Linked DNA regions of Homo sapiens: all the other regions are linked to region 1. The links are contacts of gene promoters, found by promoter capture Hi-C in human tissues and cell types (Jung and others, 2019). All regions are on one chromosome and are shown on one strand. Each heading gives the region's core, a stretch centred on a gene start or on the middle of the fragment in contact. The rest is flanking DNA. Distances are from core to core; before and after follow the strand shown.

Region 1 (2,759 bases), core at 118-2,617:
CTTTTTACAGAGCTTGCACCATGGGAAAAAATAAAATAAAATTTAGGAAAGGGAGGCAACAGCCATTGGGAGCCAACACAGAGTCACGCAGCGCCCAAAATACAAACACCGCAGCGGCCAGAAATCCCGCCACCTTTCTCGTTCTCCCAGGCTGTCCTGTCGAGGTTCCCTGAGTCCCCCCGCACACTGAAAGGCATCGCAGGTGCAGTGCGCACCCCTTTCCCACCCACCCCAAGAAGCCCTGTCCCGCCATCAGTCTCTCTCCTCGGGATGAGCAGGGAGAGCGCGCGGAGGTTCCCGACTCCCTCGACTACAACCAAGAAAGAATAATTTTCAAAGTGTTCAACATCCCCGCCCCCAAGCTCCCCAAAACACAGGGGCAGGGAACACCAAAACACTCGGCTCTCATTAGGAAGATCACGGCTCTGAAAGGAAATAGTAGACACGATACTTCATCTCATCTGGATTTATGACCAAAAAAACAAAAACAAAAACCCAAAGAGTTCGCTTGCATTTTTTCCTTCCAAATCTCGGTTCGGCTCGAAGGCAGGGAATCTAAAAGACCGAGGCCGATGGAAGAGAGCCAGCGGGGCGAGCGAGCGGGCAGCCTCCCTTTTTGCCTCCCGGAGTTACCCAGAAGGACAGGGGAAGGGAAGGAAGAAGAGGCGAGGAAAAAGAGGAGGGAGGGAAGCGGAGGCCAGGAGCGACGGAGCAAGGAAAGCAGTTTGCAAGCGAGAAAAGAGGGAAAAAACACAGCCGCACGAATCCAGAGAGATCACAAGCCGTACGCAAGCAGCAGCAGAAAGAGCGAGAGCGCGAGCGCGCGTCCTCTCCGCGGTCTGGGGCCAGACAGCCCCCAGACTAGCCCGAATCACCCCCCAAGCACTGTCTCGTCCTCTCTGCTCCGGCCGCCCCCTAATTCCCCTCCTTCCTCTCCTCCACCTCCTTTCCAAAAACCAAAACAACACAAGGGAGGGTGGCAAAAGCCTCCCCAAACCGGCCGATTCACTCAAAGACAACAATAATAATAATAAATACATAACAATCTATATCCTATGGTGGGAGAGACGTGGGACTAATCTTCGGCATTTATTTTAACACCTGACAGCTAGAATAAATAAATATATACATTTATATCAATAGATACACATAGAAAACTTGGAGCCAAAGCATTTGGCAAGAGCGGAAAAAAAAAGAATTAAAAGGTAAAATAATGATCATGAGCAGCGGCGGCGGCAGCGGCACCAGCGGCAACAGCGGCGGCGGCGGCAGTAGCAGCAGCAGCGGCGGCAGCAACAGCAATAATCACCTGGTGTCCGGCCTTTCCTAGAAACTTCTTGCATCACCACTTCTAAGAACCCCAGTTCTAAGAATCAACAGAGCTCAATTCTCGGAATTTGAGCTTCGGACTTTACCACTGCTACGTGGCAGGGGAGGACTTGGTGTCAGCTCTCCGAGATTTTTACTGCCCCTGGCCAACCAAAAGCCCTCAAAGCCACAAGATTTTTTCACTGGCCGGCATATTTCGAGGTCCTCATAAGCAGAGCGTCTCGGATTTGGAGGTTCCGGTTCGAGGCTCGAGGGGCCTGAAGGTGGCTCTCCCTCCCCGGGCCCAAGACGATGGTATGGCCTGCTCCGCCACCATCACGTGGGCTCCTCCTCTGTGACGTCGGCGCCTTCGCTGTAGCAAAGCTCGGCCTCTGGAATTCTGAGAACTAATTTGCTATTCGGTGACATAAGAGGGGGAGTGCGCTTTGCTTTCCCGGGGTCTGGGGCTAATTCCTTCTTTCTTACCCATAAACTCAGCAGATCGAGCTAAATGCACAAAAGGGAGCGAGAGGTTTGAACCACTGGGAAAAGTATGTTATATATATAGTAGGGTTAGAGAGGCGAGTAAGAGAAAAATAAAATAAAATAAACATCACAGCTCTTTCCAACTAGAATATTAGGCACCACGAGAAAAATATTTGCCAAGCAGTTTTCGGTGGGTTCATTTGCTTTATTTTTATTTAGGACAGGGGTTTTTGCTGTTGTTCTGGGTTTTTTTCTTTCTGGTGTGGTGGCTTGGGATTTTTGGTTTCTGTATTTTGATGGTTTATGGATTTTTGCTTCTGATTTTTTGCCTTTTGCAAGTTTGTGGTGTTACGTAAATCACAGGATCGGCATCGGTTGGATTTTTTTGTACGTGCCTTTTCTTTCCCTATCTAATCCCTCAAGCGTTTTAAAGATGTATTATTTCAATACTAATACTATTGAAAGAAGCTTAAATTTTTGGCCATATGTAACAATCCCAGCCCCCACTTTTTTTTTTTTTTTTTCCTTTGGTGCAATTTTCTTTTTCCCCCTTGGACTTTTGCTGAAGTGTGTCTCTCCTGCACTTCAGAGAAATGTTCAAAGGATTTGTTTTGGTTTGGTTTGTTTCTTTCCAGGACAGCAAGTGGTGGGTTTAATCTGTTATTGTTGACTCTTGGGAAATTTCTTGTTGCAAGAAACGTGTGTGTGGGGGGGAGGGTGGGGGTGGCGGGGTGGTATGTGTGTGTTTTCTACAAAATTCTGTGAGCCAAATACCTGTTTGTGTTTTGTTTTCTCTTAAGGTCTTGAGATTTTTGTTTTCGAGGCTCGTTTCAAGGTCGTTGTAAAAAAATCTCTTCAGTCTGTGTTTAAGAGATCAGCCGGAGGGAATTCTAAAGGCCTGCCGTGCCAGTATCACAGATACTGCCTGTATTTAGAACAGACTGCCACAACTACAATGCACTACA
Region 2 (2,701 bases), core at 2-2,501, 1.1 Mb after region 1:
GATAAAAAATAAGCTTTTAAAATATATACATTATATATATATATACATTATATATATATACATTATATATATATATATACATCATATATATATATATAAAGTGCATATGAGAAATCTACTAAAACTGACCTTCTAGGCCAATTATCTGCAAAATTCAAAGCATCTTTCACACAAATTGAATATTTTCATCATGTCAACATTTAACGCAAATTAAAAACCATGGGTAATTTTAAAAATTTACATTTGGAAATTTTAAAACATCCCTAAAATGGCTTACTTCAAAATAGAAATCATAATCATAAGAACTGAACAATAATGAAAATTCTATGTAGTAAAACTTGTAGGAGTCAGCTCAAATGGTTCCAAGAGGGAAATGTAAATCCTTAAATGATTACATTAAAAATAAAGTGAAAATTAATGAGCTACTCATCCAACTCACGTTAGTAAAAGAACAGAATTAAGATTCAAAATATAAGGAGGGCATAATTAAAATATGAAAAAAATGAAACTAATGGTATAGAAAACAAGAATATAATAGAATATCAAAACAGTCAAAATTTGGCACTTTGAAAAAGCGTTAGAAATTGCAAATTTCTGGGAAGGTTTATCAAGAAAAAAAGGCATGAAAAATATTTATAGATAACAGCAGGTATTAGAAACATAACAGAATAGCATGAGCAATTTCATGTGATTAATTTGAAAATGTAGATGAAATAAAAATGTTCCTCTTTAAAAATTGTAACCTAACAAAAAGTGAGTAAAAAAAAATAGACAACATGAATAACCCAATAAAGTTAAATTGTATTAGTGGTTAAAATATTCCCAATAAATAATTACTTGAAGGGAGCATGAGAATGGCTTTTGGGTTAACATTTTAGGTTGGTAACATTCTGCTTCACGATCTGAGTGCTGGTTATATGATTGTGTTTAGTGTTTGAAAATGTATTGAGCAATACATTTATGATTTGTGCATTTTATTTATATACTACTTCAGTGGATAAAATATTTTCTTTATCGAAAACTACCTAGTATCTTGATTCTAAATGTGAATTCTACTGGTTGTTCAAGTTAGAATTACAATGGAAAAAAAAAGGGAACACTCTCCAACATAATCTATAAGGCAAGTGGCCAATCTTATTAGTGAATATATCGATTAAAATCTTATAAACTACTGGAAAACCAAGCACAGTAATGAAGAAAACAACGACAACAACAAAGCTCAAATAAGTTGGGTGTAACCCTGAAATAGAAGAGTAGTTGAACATTAGAAAGTCTATTAACATGGCCCGGAGCCGTGGCTCACACCTGTAATCCCAGCAGTTTGGGAGGTTGAGGTGGGCAATCACTTGAGGTCAGGAGTTGGAAACCAGCGTGGCCAACATGGTGAAACCCCGTCTCTACTAAAAAATACAAAAATTAGCCAGGCGTGATGGTGGGTGCCTGTAATCCCAGCTACTCGAGAGACTAAGGCAGGGGCATCTCTAGACCCTGGGGGGCCAAGGTTACAGTGAGCGGAACCACATTCACAGAACAAAATAGAGAGGCCTTATGATTGGCTGAGCGTGGTGGCTCATGCTTGTAATCCCAGCACTTTGGGAGGCCGAGGTGGGTGGGTCACTTGAGGTCAGGAGTTCGAGACCAGCCTGGGCAATATGGTGAAACCTCATCTCTACTAAAAATACAAAAATTAGCTGGGCATGGTGGCAGGCGCTTGTAATCCCAGCTACTCAGGAGGCTGAGGCAGGAGAATCGCTTGAACCCTGCAGGTGGAGTTTGCAGTAAGCCAAGATTGTGCCATTGCACTCCAGCCTGGGTGAGAGAGTGAGACTCTGTTTTTGTTTCTTTGTTTGTTTGTTTTAAAAGAAAGGTCTTTTGATTAAATTATTTAATAGATTTTTAAAAACAGTATAATAAAAGAAAACATTTATGTTTTAAAAAAACACACAGCAGGAGTGGAAAGGACTTTCTTAACTGGATAAAGGCTATCTATGCAAAAATCACTCCAAATAGTGAAACGTTAAAAGTAATTATTTTAAGTCTAAAATAAGAGAAAGATGCTCACTATCTTTCTTTTATTGATAGGCCCCTTCTATTCAATTTTGTAATGAAGACTCTAGTCAGTGCAGCTATATTAAAAACATGAATTTTATATATATATATATATAAAGACTATAAAAAGCCAAACTGCCACCTATGATATAGCTATATAGCAAACTATATAGAAACTCAAAGTAATATGTAAAAAATTCACATTTAAAAGTTTATCACCAGGTGTGGTGGCTCATGCCTGTAATCCCAGCACTTTGGGAGTCTGAGGTAAGTGGATCACCTGAGGTCAGGAATTTGAGAGCAGTCTGGCCAACATGGTGAAACCCCATCTCTACTAAAATAAAAAATTAGCCTGACGTGGTGGCAGGCGCCTGTAGTCCCAGCTACTCGGGAGGCTGAGGCAGGAGAATCACTTGAACCCGGGAGGCAGAGGTTGCAGTGAGCCGAGATTGCACCACTGCACTCCAGCCTGGGGGACAACAGCGAGACTCCGTATCAAAACAAAACAAAACAGAAAAGTTTATCAAGTTTGGTAGATATAACATTAATGCACCAAAAAATTCATTAATAGCAAAAAAAAAAATGTGCCTCAGAATATCTTTTTAAATGGGCAAGGGATTAATGAATAAAATCTTAAAACTTTACTGAAAGA
Region 3 (2,700 bases), core at 124-2,623, 1.1 Mb after region 1:
AGAAAACTGAGATCGAAGGAATAAATTATTTACCCAATGTCATACAGCAGATTTTGACAAAGCCAGAAGGATAATTCATATTCTTCACCTAGCAACTTTCCTTTTTCATGGCCACATAATGAATTCCTTAGCTCCCTCTCTGCATTATTAGGAGTCAGGTAACTGGGGTACCAGTCCCACCTCTGCATCTCATGCTCTCCACAACTCAGGTCCAGCACATCCATTCTCAAAGTCTGCCTGCTCACCTGTGGAATGAGAGTCTGGACTAAGGGAACTCCCAGCCCCCTCCTCCTGACACTGTGAGTTTTTCCTTTCTCGAAGGCTACTGGTAGGCCCCACTGGAGACTGAAAGGGGAAGATTGCAGTAAAAGGCGCAGGCTGTCGAAGGATAACATGTCCTTCTACATCATTCACTAGCCTAGGATGCCAGTCAACTTCATTCTTGGAACCTTTATTTTCCAATTTGCGGGCATTTTGCAATAGGCTGATTTTAATCACATTTTATACTTTTTTTCCTTTGTTGCAGAAATGTTTGTATTACCTGTTCTTTGAATGCAGCATCTGTAGACCACAAGGTCTTTCCATAGGAACTAAGCCTGTTATATTGCTGCTAGTTTTGAGTAAATGAGCTGAATCTTGCAGCCAAGCCTCAGTGCAAACAAAAACATTTTCTGGCCAAACATTTTCTGGTTATTCAACTCCATTACAGGGCTGACTAAAAAAAAAAAAAAAAAAGTAAAAACCCACAGAGGAGCAAAACACAAGTCCTGGGAAGACAATTTCCAGCCACATTAGCTCACATTGTCAGGGTAGAAAAGAAACAGGCCCTCATTCTTCAAACCATCATCATCTCCAAACTCTTACCCTGTGCTCTTCTGCTATTTTAATTTCACCACTTCAAAATGGGAAAAACAAATAGGTTAATAGTTTCCATGCGTTTAGACTGTGACCAGAGGCATACGAAGCAATTTCAGAACCTCAGGCAACCACAGCTTTGAGGGAAGGATGATGATGGATTTACCAATTCATCTTGGGATGGATTCCAGAGTTAAGGGAGTCAGGCCAGCACTGTGCTGCCAGAGTGGGATATAAACAATATTCATTCGTTCATTCTTTTTGTACACATTCATCTCAGGCTTATTTCTATTTCAGACAGTATACTGGGTGCATTATAGGACAGAGAAATACATTCTTAAGACATAGTCTCTGCCCCTAATGAAATTAAAGTCTGGTAGAGGAAATAGACATAAGCACAAATAATTTAAATAAAGTGCACACTGAAAGTATTGTAAGCAAACCAAATAAAGTGCTCAGGAATGGGAGAGAAAGAAGCAATTCATTCCAAGTGGGACCATTGAGGAAGGCTTCACTGGGGAATGGCCTTCTAGCCTGTACCCTGAAAGGTCAAAATGGCAAATTGCGATACATCTAGGCATTAGCCAAGGCACAGAAGTATGGGAGTTTCACATAGGTTTGAACAAGAGTGAGTGGTCTGAGATGTTATGAGAACCATAAAGGGGGGTTGGATACCATGTAAAGAATAAGCTCTTTTTACATTGTGAAGCCATTAAGATTTTATTATCCAGAAAGGTACTTGTATTTGATCACATCTGTGTTTGGAAAGAAAACTGGAAGTCATTGGAGACAGGGGCAAGGGGAGTATTATAAGAAGAGAGATACAAAGAAGCCAAATCATAGGTCATTGCTATAGGTTAGACATAAGGACACTAGTTACCTACGTACAGACACTTCTTGCTTCATAGCCATTTATATATCCTCATGGTAAAAGAGCAGCTACCCCTGAATTTCCACATCCCATTCAGTTCTGCATCTTTCTAATAAGATCCACATCCCGGGTTTATTCCTGATTGTAAACTCAATGAGTTAATCCAGATACCTCAGTTGTAATATAGCATTTTACATGTGAAACGTGGTTGTTTGCTAAGAGCATGGAATTAAAGGGCAGGATGGAAAGTTAACAGCCGATCTTTCTGAGACCTGACTCACTAACTGGTGTCTCTTTTAAGGGGTGCTATATATTTTTAAAGCTTAGAATATTTTTAAGGCCAGATAAATGTGTTTCTTAATTCACTTTTTCAAACCAGCTCCCTTCTACATTCAACATTTCTGTCAAGAGTTTGCAAACTCTAAACTTGGAGATGGTGTGTAAATCAAAGCTTTAAATGATCAGAAGCCTAATTGATTATGCTGAGTTCTGATTTGGGTTCTGCATTTAGCATGCTCTGTCTCAGTCATCTGACAGGCTATTCTGTAAAAAGTAGGGGTCTTAGTGATCGCACTATGGTCTAAGTGGTCACACTATGTCTTTGATAATGAATCAAGTTTTAGAAGTAATAGTGAAGCATTCCTCAATCGGTGAACCAGAGTGGTATAGTTCAAGGGTCAACAAACTATGCCCATGGGTCAAATCCAGCCCATTGTCTGTTTTTTTTTTGTAAATAAAGTATTACTGGAACACAAGCATGCCCATATGCTTGCATGCTATGACTGCTTTCCAGCTATAATAGCAAAGTTGACTTGTTACAACAAAGCCAGAAATATTTACTATATGGGACTTTAGAGAAAAGTTTGCCATCACCCATGCTGTAGGAAACAAGGGAAGGAACAAGGATAGCAGTCAGAAAACACATGTCCTCAGTTCTGGACTTGCCACCTACTACCTGAGTAATACTAGAAAAG
Region 4 (2,745 bases), core at 72-2,571, 1.3 Mb after region 1:
CTTATCTTCTGAAGTCAGAAAGATTTCAATGTTTATATTATTATGACTGTAAAAGCAAGGTTTATTGTTAAGATAAATAATAAATTATGATTGCTTGAGTTTTTATACAGTTCTTTGTTTTCCCTGAAGTCAATAGTTGCCTTGTTTATTAATTTTTCTTATTTTTAAATACATATAACTAATTTGTTTCCAGATGTTCTGTTTTATAAAATACTCTGCATTATTATTTTATACACAACCAAATGCACTAAATCATCCATCAAGTGCATGTAGCAATTGGTACCCAACTGTTAGTTATATATCCAACATCCATTGTCCTTTTTTCTTTTACTAATGGGAGCCGCATACAAGCTTAAGGTAACAATATGTCCAGCTTTAGAAATCATTTCCTAGCCTTTCTTGCAGCAAATATGTCCATAAGATACAGCCTTCTAAAGAAGATGTAAATAGCTGTCTACTGGGGTTTAGGGACAGGTCCTTTCCTGTTAAAGGCATTGCCTATTTCTCCTTATTACCACCACCATCACATCCTCTTCTTCATCCTCCTTCTCCTTGTTTTTCCCCTCCTTTTCTGCTCTGTCTTCTTCCTTCTTGTCTGAATATACTGATTTTAGGTGAGGGGTTGAGCAGCCTTTACATCACATGAGGAAACTGTAAGAATAAAGATATAAGGAGCAGGATTTTAGAGACAGTAATGGCAATGCAAAAACAGTCCAGCACTTTTCATCTGTGGATCTCTGCTTAAATGTTGGAAAATATCTTTTTAATTTAATGACTTTGGTAAGGCTTATAAAATATCCAGCCAAATACAACCCTAACTGATACCAATGACGTTTCCAATCAGTGTATTTCTCAATAAATTATGTTGATACATGTGTCTAGCTGTGTGGGAAAAAAGGAAGTGAAATCTTTTCTTTTTACACCAAAATTAATTCTGTAGGAACGAATAATATCAATGTAAAAAATGAGAGAAACCATTGAAATTTTAGAAAAACCTACATTTTATAAAATATAATCTTCCATTGTGGAAGGTTTGTCTAAGTATTACTGAAACCACCAAGATAAAATGATCACTAAATATAACCAAATAGCAATTAAAATTTTCTATGCAGATGTCTTAATGAGGCAAGTAATTAATTGCTAAGAAAATTATGACCATACTAAAGCAGAGAGCTAATATCCTTAATATATAAAGAGCTGTTCAATAGCAACAAGAAAAATGTATCGAAGTTAAAGAAAAATTGTCAAAGGAAACAGACAATTCCAAGAAAAAAGAAAAGCATCTGTGGAAAGCCTCTCACAAAACAGACTAAATAAATAAAATACAATAACAAATAAAAATAATTAAAGTAGATATAATGAAAGAAGCCAATTAAAATTATAAACAATATCCTCAGAGAGATATAAAAATATAGAATATTCTGGAAATAAGAATATGATGTTTCATATCTTTAAAAACCAAACAAGAAACAAGAACAACTGGAGAATAAAAAAGAGCTTTGGGAGATTAAAAATATGTAATAAAAAGGTCTGAAGAATGGCTGGAATACAGACATAACCGGGAAATTAAAATAAAAAAGACAAAGGACATAGTTAATAGAATAAAGAAGAAAATTGAAAGACTAAACCATATCCTCAAAGAGTCAACTATCAGGAGCTCTGGAAATAAAGACCAGAGTAAACAGTGAAGAAGAAATTACCCAATCAATGATTGAAAAAAAATTCCCAGATCCAAAGGACCTGATTTTTCAGGTTGAAGATGTACATGTCATGGCTATCATAAGAAGTGAAAAAAAGACCAAGAATACTGTGGACAGAGAGAAGTTTTCTAAAAGCTACTAGGAGAGAAGATGCCATATACAAAAAGATCAGAAATAAAAATGGCATCTCCATCTATTTGTATTTTACTTTAACGTTTAATCTGGAAAATATGTTGAAATTAATTAAATATGTTTTCTACTGAAATTGAGTCTTAAACTGTGAGATACCTCTTAGCTATGAGCAACATGACTACAAGAGGGACTTGGTGCTAGAGGGTAGGTACACTGGCACAAACTATTTTCCTTGCTGGAAAAACAACTCAAAGCAAGTGAGGTTCGTCAGTGCCAGTTCGAAGTGCTTTCTTTCTTTCTCTTTTTTTTTTTTTTTTTCTGAGTCTCACTCTGTCACCCAGGTTGGAGTGCAGTGGTGCGATCTTGGCTCACTGAAACCTCTGCCTCCCAGGTTCAAGTGAATCTCCTCCCTCAGCCTCCTGAGTAGCTGGGATTACAGGCGCGTGCCACCATACCTGGCTAATTTTTTATATTTTTAGCAGAGACAGCGTTTCACCAAATTGGTCAGACTGGTCTCGAACTCCTGACCTCGTGATCCACCAGCCTCAACCTACCAAAGTGGTGGGATTACAGGCATGAGCCGCTGCACCCGGCCAGAAGTGCTTTTTAAATTCATGTCATTTATGTTTTCTTCTCTCTCTCCCTCCTTCTATGCATTTTTTTCTTTAGCAAACATTTTCAAGATTTGACATAGGTAGAATAATTTCTAAGCTGAGAAGCATCCATTCTATTGCCTTATGTGTCACTTTTCCCCTGGGGCTCTCACTGTAATCGCTGGCTCCATCAGATGGTCCTCTTTAAATACTCTCTTACTTTCTGTACAGTTCAGAAAATCTTTCCTCAGATTTTTAAATACATCAAACTCTGAGGAAAGCTATAGGAAAATGTTTTTCTTATGAAGTACAGTGTAACG

Evidence for each region. Contacts are between HindIII fragments. The study calls those that stand out against the background at their distance.
Region 2: a fragment that was not itself captured here is called in contact with the fragment with the promoter of BCL6 in region 1 in 1 of the 25 tissues and cell types used here (lymphoblastoid cells).
Region 3: a fragment that was not itself captured here is called in contact with the fragment with the promoter of BCL6 in region 1 in 7 of the 25 tissues and cell types used here (H1 embryonic stem cells, adrenal gland, aorta and 4 more).
Region 4: a contact is called between a fragment that was not itself captured here and the fragment with the promoter of BCL6 in region 1, in 2 of the 25 tissues and cell types used here (lymphoblastoid cells and thymus).

What each region holds. Positions count from the first base shown.
Region 1 is chr3:187,744,101-187,746,859 of GRCh38, forward strand. BCL6 (BCL6 transcription repressor) reads right to left here and starts at 1,368. Exons shown (of 10, transcript NM_001706.5): 1 at 1,310-1,368. BCL6-AS1 (BCL6 antisense RNA 1) reads left to right here. Exons shown (of 2, transcript NR_173091.1): 2 at 1,144-1,926. RefSeq lists an enhancer at 481-1,006. The HindIII fragment of the contact is 4,851 bases long and covers 1-2,719 here.
Region 2 is chr3:188,893,006-188,895,706 of GRCh38, forward strand. No RefSeq gene overlaps it. Among named protein-coding and RNA genes, the nearest start is that of TPRG1-AS1, 53 kb to the right of the region's middle. The HindIII fragment of the contact is 6,568 bases long and covers 1-2,701 here.
Region 3 is chr3:188,863,239-188,865,938 of GRCh38, forward strand. The region is part of intron 9 of LPP (LIM domain containing preferred translocation partner in lipoma); the gene reads left to right. Among named protein-coding and RNA genes, the nearest start is that of TPRG1-AS1, 83 kb to the right of the region's middle. The HindIII fragment of the contact is 3,969 bases long and covers 1-2,700 here.
Region 4 is chr3:188,994,754-188,997,498 of GRCh38, forward strand. It overlaps a transcript of TPRG1 not described here. Among named protein-coding and RNA genes, the nearest start is that of TPRG1-AS1, 48 kb to the left of the region's middle. The HindIII fragment of the contact is 7,765 bases long and covers 1-2,745 here.